Regions from separate parts of the Homo sapiens genome. Here regions 1 and 3 are each linked to region 2. Evidence: promoter capture Hi-C in human tissues and cell types (Jung and others, 2019). All regions are on one chromosome and are shown on one strand. The core of a region is centred on a gene start or on the middle of the fragment in contact, and the rest is flanking DNA. Distances in the headings are between cores, read along the strand shown. Region 1 has its middle 9.4 kb from the start of TNFRSF10B. Region 2 holds the start of EGR3 (early growth response 3). Region 3 overlaps TNFRSF10B (TNF receptor superfamily member 10b).

The links. Contacts are between HindIII fragments. The study calls those that stand out against the background at their distance.
Region 1: a contact is called between a fragment that was not itself captured here and the fragment with the promoter of EGR3 in region 2, in 1 of the 25 tissues and cell types used here (pancreas).
Region 3: a fragment that was not itself captured here is called in contact with the fragment with the promoter of EGR3 in region 2 in 1 of the 25 tissues and cell types used here (hippocampus).

What each region holds. Positions count from the first base shown.
Region 1 is chr8:23,076,466-23,080,335 of GRCh38, forward strand. It overlaps the pseudogene TNFRSF10B-AS1. Among named protein-coding and RNA genes, the nearest start is that of TNFRSF10B, 9.4 kb to the left of the region's middle. The HindIII fragment of the contact is 5,632 bases long and covers 1-3,870 here.
Region 2 is chr8:22,692,050-22,696,014 of GRCh38, forward strand. EGR3 (early growth response 3) reads right to left here and starts at 1,431. Exons shown (of 2, transcript NM_004430.3): 1 at 742-1,431. The coding sequence starts at 895. LOC105379321 (a long non-coding RNA gene) reads left to right here and starts at 2,808. Exons shown (of 3, transcript XR_001745832.2): 1 at 2,808-3,165; 2 at 3,395-3,483; 3 at 3,892-3,965. RefSeq lists silencers at 1-50, 461-530, 1,393-1,512, 1,457-1,620, 2,503-2,722 and 2 more and enhancers at 1,665-2,310, 2,143-2,252, 2,293-2,392. The HindIII fragment of the contact is 10,174 bases long and covers 1-3,965 here.
Region 3 is chr8:23,052,671-23,056,627 of GRCh38, forward strand. All of the region lies in intron 1 of TNFRSF10B (TNF receptor superfamily member 10b), which reads right to left. Among named protein-coding and RNA genes, the nearest start is that of TNFRSF10B, 14 kb to the right of the region's middle. The HindIII fragment of the contact is 7,269 bases long and covers 1-3,957 here.

The DNA.
Region 1 (3,870 bases), core at 871-3,370, 390 kb after region 2:
GGACATAGGAGCAAAGCAGAAGAGAGGATTACACTGAAGAATGAACACATTCTGGGGGGTGGTAGACATGTCATTATCTTATTGTGGTGATAGTTTCGTAGTGTATACATACATCTCAATCTACCAAACTACACATTTTAAAAATGTACACTTTGTTTTATATTCATTATACCTCAATAAATTCTTTTTTTTTTTTTTTGTTTGAGATGGAGTCTCACTCTGTCGCCCAGGCTGGAGTGCAGTGGCGCGATCTCGGCTCACTGCAAGCTCCGCCTCCTGGGTTCATGCCATTTTCCTGCCTCACCCTCCTGAGTAGCTGGACTACAGGCGCCCGCCACCATGCCCGGCATTTTTTTTTTTTTTGTATTTTTAGTAGAGACGGGGTTTCATCAGGTTAGCCAGGATGGTCTGGATCTCCTGACCTCGTGATCTGCCCGCCTCAGCCTCCCAAAGTGCTGGGATTACAGGCATGAGCCACCGAGCCCAGCCAATAAATTCATTTTTTAAAAAACTTCAAATAGAATACAAACACTTGAGTGTATACTGTATTCCCTATAGCACTTGCACATAGATCAGGAAATATGTATACATTAAAAGTCAGTATCCAGTTGGGTGCAGTAACTCACGCCTGTAATCCCAGCACTTTAGAAGGCTGAGGTGGGTGGATCACGAGGTCAAGAGATCAAGACTATCCTGGCCAACATGGTGAAACCCCATCTACTAAAAATACAAAAAATTAGCTGGGTGTGGTGGCACAAGCCTGTAGTCCCAGCTACTTGGGAGGCTGAGGTAGGAGAATCACTTGAACCCTGGAGGCGGCGGTTGCAGTGAGCCGAGATCATGCTACTGCACTCCAGCCTGGTAACAGAGCGAGACTCCGTCTCAAGAAAATAAAATAAAATAAAATAAGCCGGTTGCGGTGGCTCACGCCTGTAATCCCAGCACTTTGGGAGGCTGAGGAGGGCAGATCACGAGGTCAGGAGATCGAGACCATCCTGGCTAACACGGTGAAACCCCATCTCTACTAAAAATACAAAAAATTAGCCAGGCTGGTGGCGGGCAATTGTATTTCCAGCTGCTGGGGAGGCTGAGGCAGGAGAATGGCGTGAACTTGGGAGGCGGAGCTTGCAGTGAGCCGAGATCGCGCCACTGCACTCCAGCCTGGGCAACAGAGAGAGACTCCTTCTCAAAAAAAAAAAAAAAAAAAAAAAAAAAAAAAGAAAGGAAAGGCAGTATCCAATTAAAATGGAATCCTAAAAGGTAACTAACATTAAAATGTGCAGGGGAAAAAGGAGCAAAAAAATTAGACTGGACAATCATTGCTTAAATGGTAAACTTACAGGTCTATTTCAACTGTATCAATTATTGCACTAACTGTAAATCCACTGGGCACTACCGTTCAAAGGTAGAAATGGTTGGAAGGGCTGAGAAAGCAAGACTCAACTAGATCTTGTCTATACGAGATGGGACTTAAAAGGAAGACACAGATACTGTCTGTTGAAAGTAAGTGGATGGGAAAAGATACATCATGCAAATCCTAAGGCCAAGAAAACTGCCGTGGCTATCTCAGTATCAGACGTAGTTGATTTTGCTAGCAGTGGACAAGATCCGAGTTACCCTACGTTGATGGCAGCGAATCCATACGGGCCCACAGCAACTTCAGCTCTTCACCTCCTGATAAGAAAGAATTCGACTGAGGGTCATAAGGCAGAAGGAGAGATGGAGGCAAGTTTTAGAGCAATAGTGAGTTTATTAAAAAGCTTTAGAACAGGAAGGAAAGGAAAGAAAAGAAGGAAAGTACAACTTAGAAGATGGCCAAGCAGGTGACTTGAGAAGCCAAGTGTGCAGCCTGAACTTGTGACTTGGGGATTTATAGGTAGGCATACTTCCAGGATTTTGCCTTGCTTCTCCCCACTCCTGAAATCTTGTTAGGAAGTTGCTGATCAGTTTCAGTTGTTTTCTATGTATTAGGAGACTGCCTTTTTCTGGCATCGGCTGTAACCAGTTATTACTTTAGAGAAACAGTTAAAAACCACCTAACCATCACCTGATGTTCGCTCAACCCTCCTAGTGTAAGAAGCGGTGGGGAGCCCTCTCCTGCCCAGCTCATACCTGACTAGCTACACAGGGTAACAATTTTAGGACATAGAATATTATGGGAGATCAAAAAGAACCTTTGCAGTTAAAAAGGTTAATTCATCAGGGAGTATAATAATCACAAATTGTATATGCCTAGTAATACAGCTTAAAAACACTTGAAGCAAAAATGGAATGAAAATGAGATTAAATCAGCTCTTTCTCTGCAATTGATAGAACAATCAAATGAAAACACTAGCAAAGTGGCAAGCAATCTGCAAACTATCAACCACCTTGATTTAATTGACATTTATTTATTTATTTTATTTTATTTTTAGTAGAGACGGGGTTTCACCGTGTTAGCCAGGATGGTCTCCATCTCCTCACCTCGTGATCTGCCCGCCTCAGCCTCCCAAAGTGCTGGGATTACAGGCATGAGCCACCACGCCTGGCCTGGTTCTCAGCCTGAATGTTATTGGTATATAGATATGCTACCAATTTTTATACAATGATTTTGTATCCTGAAATTTTGCTGAAGTTGTTGTCAGTTCCAGTAGCCTTTTTGTGGAGTCTTTACGGTTTTCAAGGTACAGAATTATATTGTCCATTAAGATATATCTTTGACTTCTTCATTTCATATCTGGATGCCTTTTATTTCTTTCTCTTGCCTGAGTGCTCTGGCTAGGACTTCTGGTACTATGTTGAATGGGAGTGGTGAGCATGAGCATCCTTGTCTTGTTCCAGTTCTCAAGGGAAATGCTTCCAACTTTTGCCCATTCAGTATGATGTTGGCTATGGATTTGTCATAGATGGCTCTTATTATTTTAAGGCATGTTCCAATGGGAACTTTCTAATGTGTTTTAATATCCAAGAGAGCAAACACCTCTTCCGTACTTTTTCAAAATTTATTATTTTACCCAGATAAAGCTTATAATTGTAAGATTTCTTCCATTCTCCCCTTCCAAAGAAAATCAGTGGCATTTTTATCAATTTATCTTAAAACTAAAAATTAATCTAGAAATACTTAATATCTTATCAATATTCAGTATTTCCTTATCCATTTTGAAGTCAAGTATTTTATTATAACTGAGTTGTGATTTGTTTTCCTCTTCAGATAAATTTATTCCTATTTCTTTTCATGGCTGTTTGGTATTTTGTAATCGTTATAAGTTGCATAGCCTTGTAATTCTGTTTGCTAATTTATTGCATCTACTATGTTTTTAACATTCCTTCAGACATACATTTATATTTCCATATCATAGTTTCATTCTTAGGGTTGTTTGTTTCTGTTTGTTTGTTTTTGACAGAGTCTGGCTGTGTCGCCCAGGCTGGAGTGCAGTGGTGCAATCTCGGCTCACTGCAACCTCCGCCTCCTGAGTTCAAGCGATTCTCCTGCCTCAGCCTCCCGAGTAACTGGGACTACAGGCATGTGCCACCATGCCTGGCTAGTTTTTTTTTTTTTTTTTTGTATTTTTAGTAGAGACGGGGTTTCACCGTGTTAGCAAGGATGGTCTCAATCTCCTGACCTCGTGATCCACCTGCTTCGGCCTCCCAAAGTGCTGGGATTACAGGCGTGAGCCACTGTGCCTGGTCGGCCCCATTCTTAGGGTTTTTAAGTGACATTGAATATAATGATTATTGTGTCTGCCCACTTCCAAGAATCTTGCCTCATTTTTGTTTTCCATCTTGTTGCACAGGCCAGAAATTTCAGAACCATGTTCAGCTGCGCTTAGGGAAGGCAGGTGTTTGGGTCCTGATTTGATTTCCGGGGAAGGCCTCTAACATGCCACCTTT
Region 2 (3,965 bases), core at 181-2,680:
CTCCTCGGGCATGAAGGAGCTTTAGGCTCTTGCTGGAGGGGAAAATCCTAGCCCCAGCTAGGGAGGGTGGAGAGCGGCGGAAAACCGGCCGGTGTCTCCATGGCGGGAGAGGCCGCCCTTCCCCAGCTCCCCGGCCCCGGGATCGTTCCCCGTGGCAGGCCCTCGCCCCGCGGGTGAACCCCCTCCTTCTCCCCGCCGTCCCCACACCCCCACGGCTTTGCTGAACGCCCCGGAAAGGCAGCGTCGCAGTACCTCTCCCACCGCGGGGACTCCACGCCGCACATGGCTCCATCCCGGGTGGGAGGCTGAGGGAGTAAGGGGGGAGAGCGCGGGTGAAAAAGACGCCGGGCTCCTCCCGGGAAGAGGGCGACAGCACCACGCCTTGCGCGTAGCCCGGCGATCGGGCCCCCTGCGTGGTGAGGGAGAACCCCAGAGCCGCTCGCACCTACCTCCCTCCGGTCGGCGGCTGCCCCCACCCGGGAGAACCGAAGCCTCTACCGTGGCGTCGCCAACCTAGCCTTCTCGATCGAGGAGGGCGGGAGGAGTGGGTGGGAAAAGCAACTCGCCCCCCGCAAAATTCCCAGCGCGCCCCCATCTCTCCATCCATTTATCTATCCACCCATCCACCCATCCATCCATCCATCCATCCATCCATCCATCCATCCATCACCAGGTCGTCCCCTCCTCCTCTTCCTCTCCCCTTCCTTCCTCGCTGCCTCGCCGCCTCCCCGCCGCCCTTACCTGTAGCCATCTGATTGTAATGGACTACCGAGTCGCTGCTGCCGGAGAAGAGGTTGAGCGCGCTGGGGATCTCCTCGGGGTACAGATTGTCAGGCAGTTGGTTTAGCAAACTGCTCATGGTCACCGGCAGCTTCTCGGCGAGTTTGCCGGTCATAGCACTCCCGAGCTGCCGCCGCCGCCGCCACCGCCGCCACCGCCGCCGCTCGCTCCTAACGCAGCTTCCAGGCAAGCGGCATCCGAGAGGCGATCCGTGGTGCAGGGGAAAAGCATGCGAGAGGGAAAGTTCGGGGGGAGGGGGGAGGGAAGAAGGGAAGGGATGGGCCAGGAGAGGGGATCTTCTCTTTTTTGGGGGGCGGGAGAGGGCCCCAGGGGGTAATCCTCTTGGGTGCCTCAGCTGGTGCGGTATGAGGCTGGGTCGTGGGGGGGGTGGGGCGTGTGCGGGGGGTGGGGTGGGGGCTGGGCTGGGGGGGGATCTCGGCTCAAGGGGGTCGGACGCGGCCTCAGTATTGATCTCACAAACAGACACGCGCCCGCCGCCCCCCCGCCCCCCGATCTGCCACCGCCACCGCCACCGCCACCGCCGCCGCCGCCGCCGCCGCCGCCGCCGCCTCTGCCGCCGCTGCCGCCGCTGCTACCACCACCACCAGCCCCGCCGCTTCCTAGCAAGCTCACTGCTGCCCAAAAGCTCCCAGCCAGGGAACTCCACCAGCCTATTTATCTGAGCCCCGGGAAAGCTCCGTGACGTAGCTGCCCATATATGGACAGACAAAGCCCAGCCGAAGGGGCGCGACGTCACAATGGAAGCTCCTCACAATGGAACATTAGAAAGCAGGAAGCGGGCCGCAGCCAACGTGCGGCGCCCGCACCGCTCGCGGCTCTTGAAAAAAAGAGAAGGGGAGAAGAAACAAGAAGAATGCGAGAAGAGAGAGGAAAGAAGGATACAGCTGCATGCAAAGCGCAAAGCGCGTAGCGTGGAGTCGAAACACCAGTAACTCATTGTGTGTGTTTATTTGAGGTTTGCGTTAGGAGAGCGCATTGGGGAGAGGTGGGCGGTGGGGTGGGGTTGTTTGCAAGTGGTCTCCAACACCCCAGCAGTTAGAAAGAGAGTTGAAAACATCTGGCGAAATCCCTTTGCAGCCCGGGAACTGCTGGGGAACCCGGAAGGCGTGCGTTGCGCCCCTGCTACCTCAGCGGCTCCAGCGTTCGGGATCCTATCCGAGATTAAGAGAAAGGGAGTGCTTCCCTTTGTGGGGGGAAGGAGGGGTGCGCGCAGGGTTGGGGGGGTGTTTCAACTTGTCAGAATTCCTTGGTCCAATATCCCAAGAACTTTTGTGCCAACTTCACTCTGATTCGCCGCCCCTGCCCCTCCCTGGGCCCCTGACCCGGCGCTGACTCTAGGCTGAGCGCAGTGGCGAGGAGATTCGGAGCACCCCAGCAGTTGCGCCAAAGACAAGAGCCCCATCCATATGGGGTCGAGGATGTGCGGTTTTCGTGGTGAAGAGGAAAGAATGAAGTTGAAGGGATAGATAAACACGTGCACTGAATCCCCAGTAAATTCCCTAACGGTTCCAAGCAGCCTCTGTGGCCACAGGATGGCAGGAGGGCCCAGCAGGCCCGGGCGCAGTCGCTGTCTACTGCTGCCTGCGAAGGGCCCGCCAGAGTTCCAGAAGGAGGACGCCGAACCCACAGTCTCTGAGCCACTGGGGGCCTCCCCTAGTCTCTGCCCTCCCCCTCGCCTTCCACAGGGCTGTCCCCATTGCTGCCTGCCGGCGCTCCGCAGTCAAGGGCGGCCTGTGTGCCGACCCGGAGCGCTTTCACCTCCCGGAGCGGCAGCAGATCCCGGGGGCGGCTGCTGTGCTCCCTGGGGCCTGCTCCCGAGGCGCGCGCAGCCGGCCCGCGGGCGAGGGGGAGGAGAGGGCGGGAGCATGGGGGTGCGACCCCAAATCACATCGGCTTGGCGGGGGAGGATTCCCTCCTCGGTGGCCGCGTGGGCGCGGTGAATCCCTCGTCCCCTCCTGGGGAGTCGGGGTTGGGGGAACGTGCATTTCTCGGGGGGAGTGGGAGTGTTGACAAGGAAGAAGAGAGGATCCCCGGGCCTCACGCCGTGGGAGGGCCACGCGGGCCGGGGACGTGTGGGAGGAACTCCCGAGCTGCACGTTGTGGTGGAGGTGGATGACAACCTCGCTCCCCTCCCCTCCCCTCCACTCAGTGGAGGGCTGGGGACCGGAGGGCCCGGCCTCCCCCCATCTTCTCCAGTTCTTAGGAAAGGAGGGATTCCCGCCTCCCGCGAGCCCCCTCTCTCCACCCCCGCCGCCTCTCCCGCCAGGCTCCCCACTCCTATACTAGGGAGCCACAGCGCCCCCCGGGCTGTCCTCCGCCAGCGCGGCTCAGGGAGGGAGAGCGCTGCAGCGGTCCCGCGCTCCGGTCAGAATCAGGGCAGGCTGCGCCTCCCGCCCCCGGCTCCCTCCCTTAGGGGGGGCGCGCGGCCGGTCGGGGGGCGTGGGCGGCGGTGTGAGCCGGGCTAGGTGCGGGAGGGGCCCGGGCGGCTGCGGGGAGGGTCGCAGGGCGGCGGGCCAAGCCGGGAAGAGCCATACAAGGAGCGGATCCGGTGACGCGCCGGCCGCGCCCCTTCTCCTTCTCGATTTGGCTGCAGATTCCGGTCCCAAGATTTGCATATTTTGGCATCCAGTGGAAAAGGAAAGAAGAACGGAACCCGCAGCCTTTAAAGGAACCGCACAGGCTGTAGCGTCACCCAGGGAGGCGGTGGGGGTGGGGGTGGGGGCCTGAAAAATTAGCCAGCGGCTCTGGCCTCTGGCCGTAGAGCCCGGCAGCAGGGAGGGCCAGGGAGGGGCGGCAACCAGCGAGCTTCGGGCGCGCCAGTCCCAGACCTGGCCCCTCCAGAGTGCTTCCTGCTGCGCGTGCACCCGGAGGCTGCGGAGGGTCTCCACGGGTTCCTGCCTGGGGCCGGGAGACGCTGTGGGGTCCGCGGTCCTGGGCGAGCTGCAGGCCCGAAGGCTGCAGTGCCCATGTCTCCCCGCGCGAGGCAGAGCTCAGCCTGCGGGGGTGGTGGGAAGGAAGTGAGAGGCCTCCGGGCCGCCCAGCTCAACTCCGGAGGACCCCACCGTGATGCACCCACTTTCCACCTGTCAGGATCTCTCCCCAGGAGGGGCTGCAGAGTGAGGAGCTAGAAGCCCTTATCCTGTTCGACTGGGGCCTGAGTTGGG
Region 3 (3,957 bases), core at 849-3,348, 360 kb after region 2:
TATACAGAAAGTTATAAAAATAAGGAGAATTTTAAAGATTATTGGTAAAAGTATCTTCAAAAATGTAAATAGTTGGTCTAAATTATGCAGGTCAAATACTAGGTTTGCTAAATGCTTTAGGTCATAAAATGCTTCTTTGACTTAAAAAGTGTTCAATTTATTTTGGACTGTTAAATTCTAGATACGGCCTGGGGACATGTGAAATTAGCCATGTCCCCTAGCTATGCAAAAAGTTTTAAAGAAAAGAGAATTTATACAAGAAGGGCTCCTGTATGGTAAATTCTTGTCCTAAAGTAAATTAACTGGTTGTTTAAAGAGAGGGATGTTTAGAACAAGTCAGAAAGTCAAGGCATGTCAGAGATTGTCTGTGTAAGTTGTGAAAGAATTTATGAAAGGAAATTTATGCAAGAAATGTTGTACAATTTAAAGGTGATTAGGCCTCCTAAATGCTTTATAAAATGCCACTATGACTCTTAGCTGTACAACTTGCCTGCTTTGCAGCTAGGTAAGGCCTAGGACACATGGAGCTAGATGCTAGAATAAGTCAGACCTTACCTGCATTTCTGTCTAGGTCGTAGGCTCCATACCTAGTATATAATTAAAATCCCAAATTTACCAAGGTTTTCACCAAAAGAAAAGGTTGCTAAGAATTAACAATGTAATGTGTATTTAAGACTATTGAAAAAACAGTTTACATGCAAGTTGTGTAAGGAAAGTAAAATATACTTTTGGTAAAAAGATTATAAGGAGGCATGAGAATGTGGATATTTTTTACTAGATTAAAAGGTTAAAGGATTGTTTTAAGTTGGATAAAATAAAAATGAAAGTTTAAGCAAGCTGTGGAAGGGTAATTGTAAAGACAATTCTGTGTGTAAATGTATTGGCTAAAATTAAAGGGATATCATCCAGTTTTTCTGTAAATTGAGCATTAAAATAAAAGCACAATGGGTTTCTCTTAGAGCACTAACCTTCTGTTTAACAAAAATTGTAAAGAGTTATGAAAGGTCTATAAAACTCTTACTTTATGGTCAAACATTAAAATTGGGTAAATGTGTCTATAAGGTTTTATTAAAAATTGGATTTAACATTAATAGTACACTAATGTAAAGGTGAAATGTGGCTTATTTGATATAAAATTATACAGGAAGCATTGTCAAACATGAAATGGTGTTTGGCTTTCTTTGGGCTGTATGTGCATAAATATATTATTGGTATGTGTTCCAAAGTTATGGAAGACTCCTATAATTCTGATATATCTTAGTGTATGTTATCATTAATAATTATAATTGTTATGTTAAAATTATTGTGTGCCACAGAGGTAACAGATACCCTTGTCATCAATTGTGTCTTTAACTATGGCTACCCTAAAACCTTTTGTCCTCCATAAATAATTGTTGTCTGTCTTGTTTTGGTCCTCTTTAGAAGGTGGTTTTATAATCAGCTGTAAAGCTCTAACAGGTGCTCTTGAATGCAGGTTTCTGATAACTTTGGAGATTGTGACATCAAAATAGAGGAAAAACGTTGATGACTCTTGAAGAGTTAAAATGTTCATTAATATCAAACAGGACAGGAATTAACTGCATGAACTGAACTAATAGGAGACTGAAGTGATCTTTTTGACTTTCGGCTTAAAATGTTGCTAATCCTTTGTTTTGCTTTTCAGAGGCAAGGAAACTTTTCTTTTGAGCTATTAACACCTTTTAACATTTAAGTACAGTATACTCCTATGAACAAAATTTGGAGCATATTTGTTTCTCTCTACCTGATTTTCTCCAGAATTTCGAAACTGTGAGTATTCTTAAGTTATGGCAATATAGTTATTTGCATAAGTGCAGTAAGAATCTGTTTTCTTTTGTAACAGGACACAATTGGAAAAACTGGTTATTTTACCAAGGCTTTGACTTTGCTCTCCTTTAAGGAATCAAACTTGACTTAGGAAGCCAAGAAAGCCCTTGGAAACTGGCCTCATAATTTGTGTACATAGACCCTGTACAGGGTTTCTGACCTGTGGTAAGTAAAGAATGTCACTTTCTGACAGGCCAGGAACCCCAAGTTATCTTGGAACCTCAAGAAGAGAGGAATTCACCCAACTCATAGGTATTTGATGGTATAAATCCATGGTTGGGCTCGGCTTTAAAAAGGTCTTATCTCAGATTCCTGCTATGGAACAAAGTTCCATCAAAGCCCATTTAAAACGCCTATGTAAAAAATAATTATTCTTGCTGCACGGTATATAAGTAATTAGGCCAAGTATAATAAAGCAAACCAGTCCTACCATGATTTGTCTTTTAATAAAAATGGGAAACAAGAGAGAAAAATTATGTTTCAAAAATTATAGTTACACCTGTTAAATTCTAGTCTTCCTCGATGTTTTTCAGTTTTTATTATTTTCTACAGTTTGGATTAAATTCTAATTTTTCTGGCTGCAAGTCTCAAAATGTTTTCAATTTTTTCCTTTTTCTTTTCCTTTTTCTCCATTTTCCCTAACTGGAAATCACTGAAACCTAAGCTTTGCTTTCTTAAAGCCCTGTGAACTGAAAACTAGGTGTTTCAGCAGGCACTCTCTCTAAGCCCCTAAAATAGACAGTGCTACCGGGAACAAATCAACCTCCTCCACTCCAGTACTGCATTTGGTGCCCCATAACAATGACCCTCTCTCAGCTGAAAGTAGCCAGAAAGATTATGACACCCCATCTCCCTACGATTCTCATGATAAATAAATACACAAGCATGATAGAAATCATGCGCAAATTGACAGTGGGGATTGTAGCAGGCCAGGTTTCACTAATGCAGGCCTCCATCACAACTGTTTCAGTACTAATCAAGTGCTTAAGTTAACTATTAAATGCTTAAAAAAAAAAAAAAAAAAGCCAGTGCCCTTATACAAAGGCTGGAATGTAACAAAAGCCCATCAAGAGTTTTGCTTAGGCCTTTCCTGGGCCTTAAAGCATGACAAAATAATGGAGGAATTCATAACAGGACCCATTTAGGATTAAACAAGTTTTATTGGGGGTTTTGAAGAAACTCCCCAGGCCTCCACAAACAAGGGTATTGGAGGTTTGAAGGAACTCCCCAAACCTCCATGGTTTAGCAGGGTAATCACCCCAGCACCTGGACCCATTTAGATTAAGTAAATTTACTGAGGCTCCACAGGAAGGTCTTCAGGACTCAGACCTTAGTTATAGATTAAAAGAAGTTAATCACTTATGTCTTTAGATGAATGCACACTTACATGTAGACATATAGGTTAGAAAGGATATAAGCTCTGAAACACTTTGTAATTTTGAGTTGGTCTGGCGATAATTTCCAGGCCTTCTCCCTGTAACCAGCTACAGAAATAAAAACTCTTTCTTCCCAGTTCATTGGCATCTCATTAATGGGTGGCAAGAAATAGCAGCCCGACCCTCAGTTTGGTCCAGGAACAGTATGGTTGTTCCTCAAAAAATTAAAAGTAGAATTACCAGATGATCCAGCAATCCCACTTCTGGGTATGTATCCAAAAGAACTGAAAGCAGAGTTTTCATGTTTATAATTTCACTGAAGCACATACTGTCCTTATAGAGTCATCAGCTTTAAAACTATAAATACGATATTACCTTAATGCCCAACTTTGTATTATCTGCCCTACTATAATAAGTAGATTTACTTTGTTTTTTCAGGACTTGTTTTTGCCTGATAAGACTCAGGAATTATGAAATGTGAAGTTAAGTGTGGCTCACGCCTGTAATCCCAGCATTTTGGGAGGCCGAGGCGGGCGATCATTTGAGGGCAGGAGTTTGAGACCAGCCTGACCAACATGGTGAAACCCTGTCTCTACTAAAAATACAAAAATTAGCCGGGCATGGTGGGGCATGCCTGTAATCCCAGCTACTCAGGAGGCTGAGGCAGGAGGATCCCTTGAACCAGGGAGGTGGAGGTTACAATGAGCCAAGATTGTGCCACTGCATTCTAGCCTGG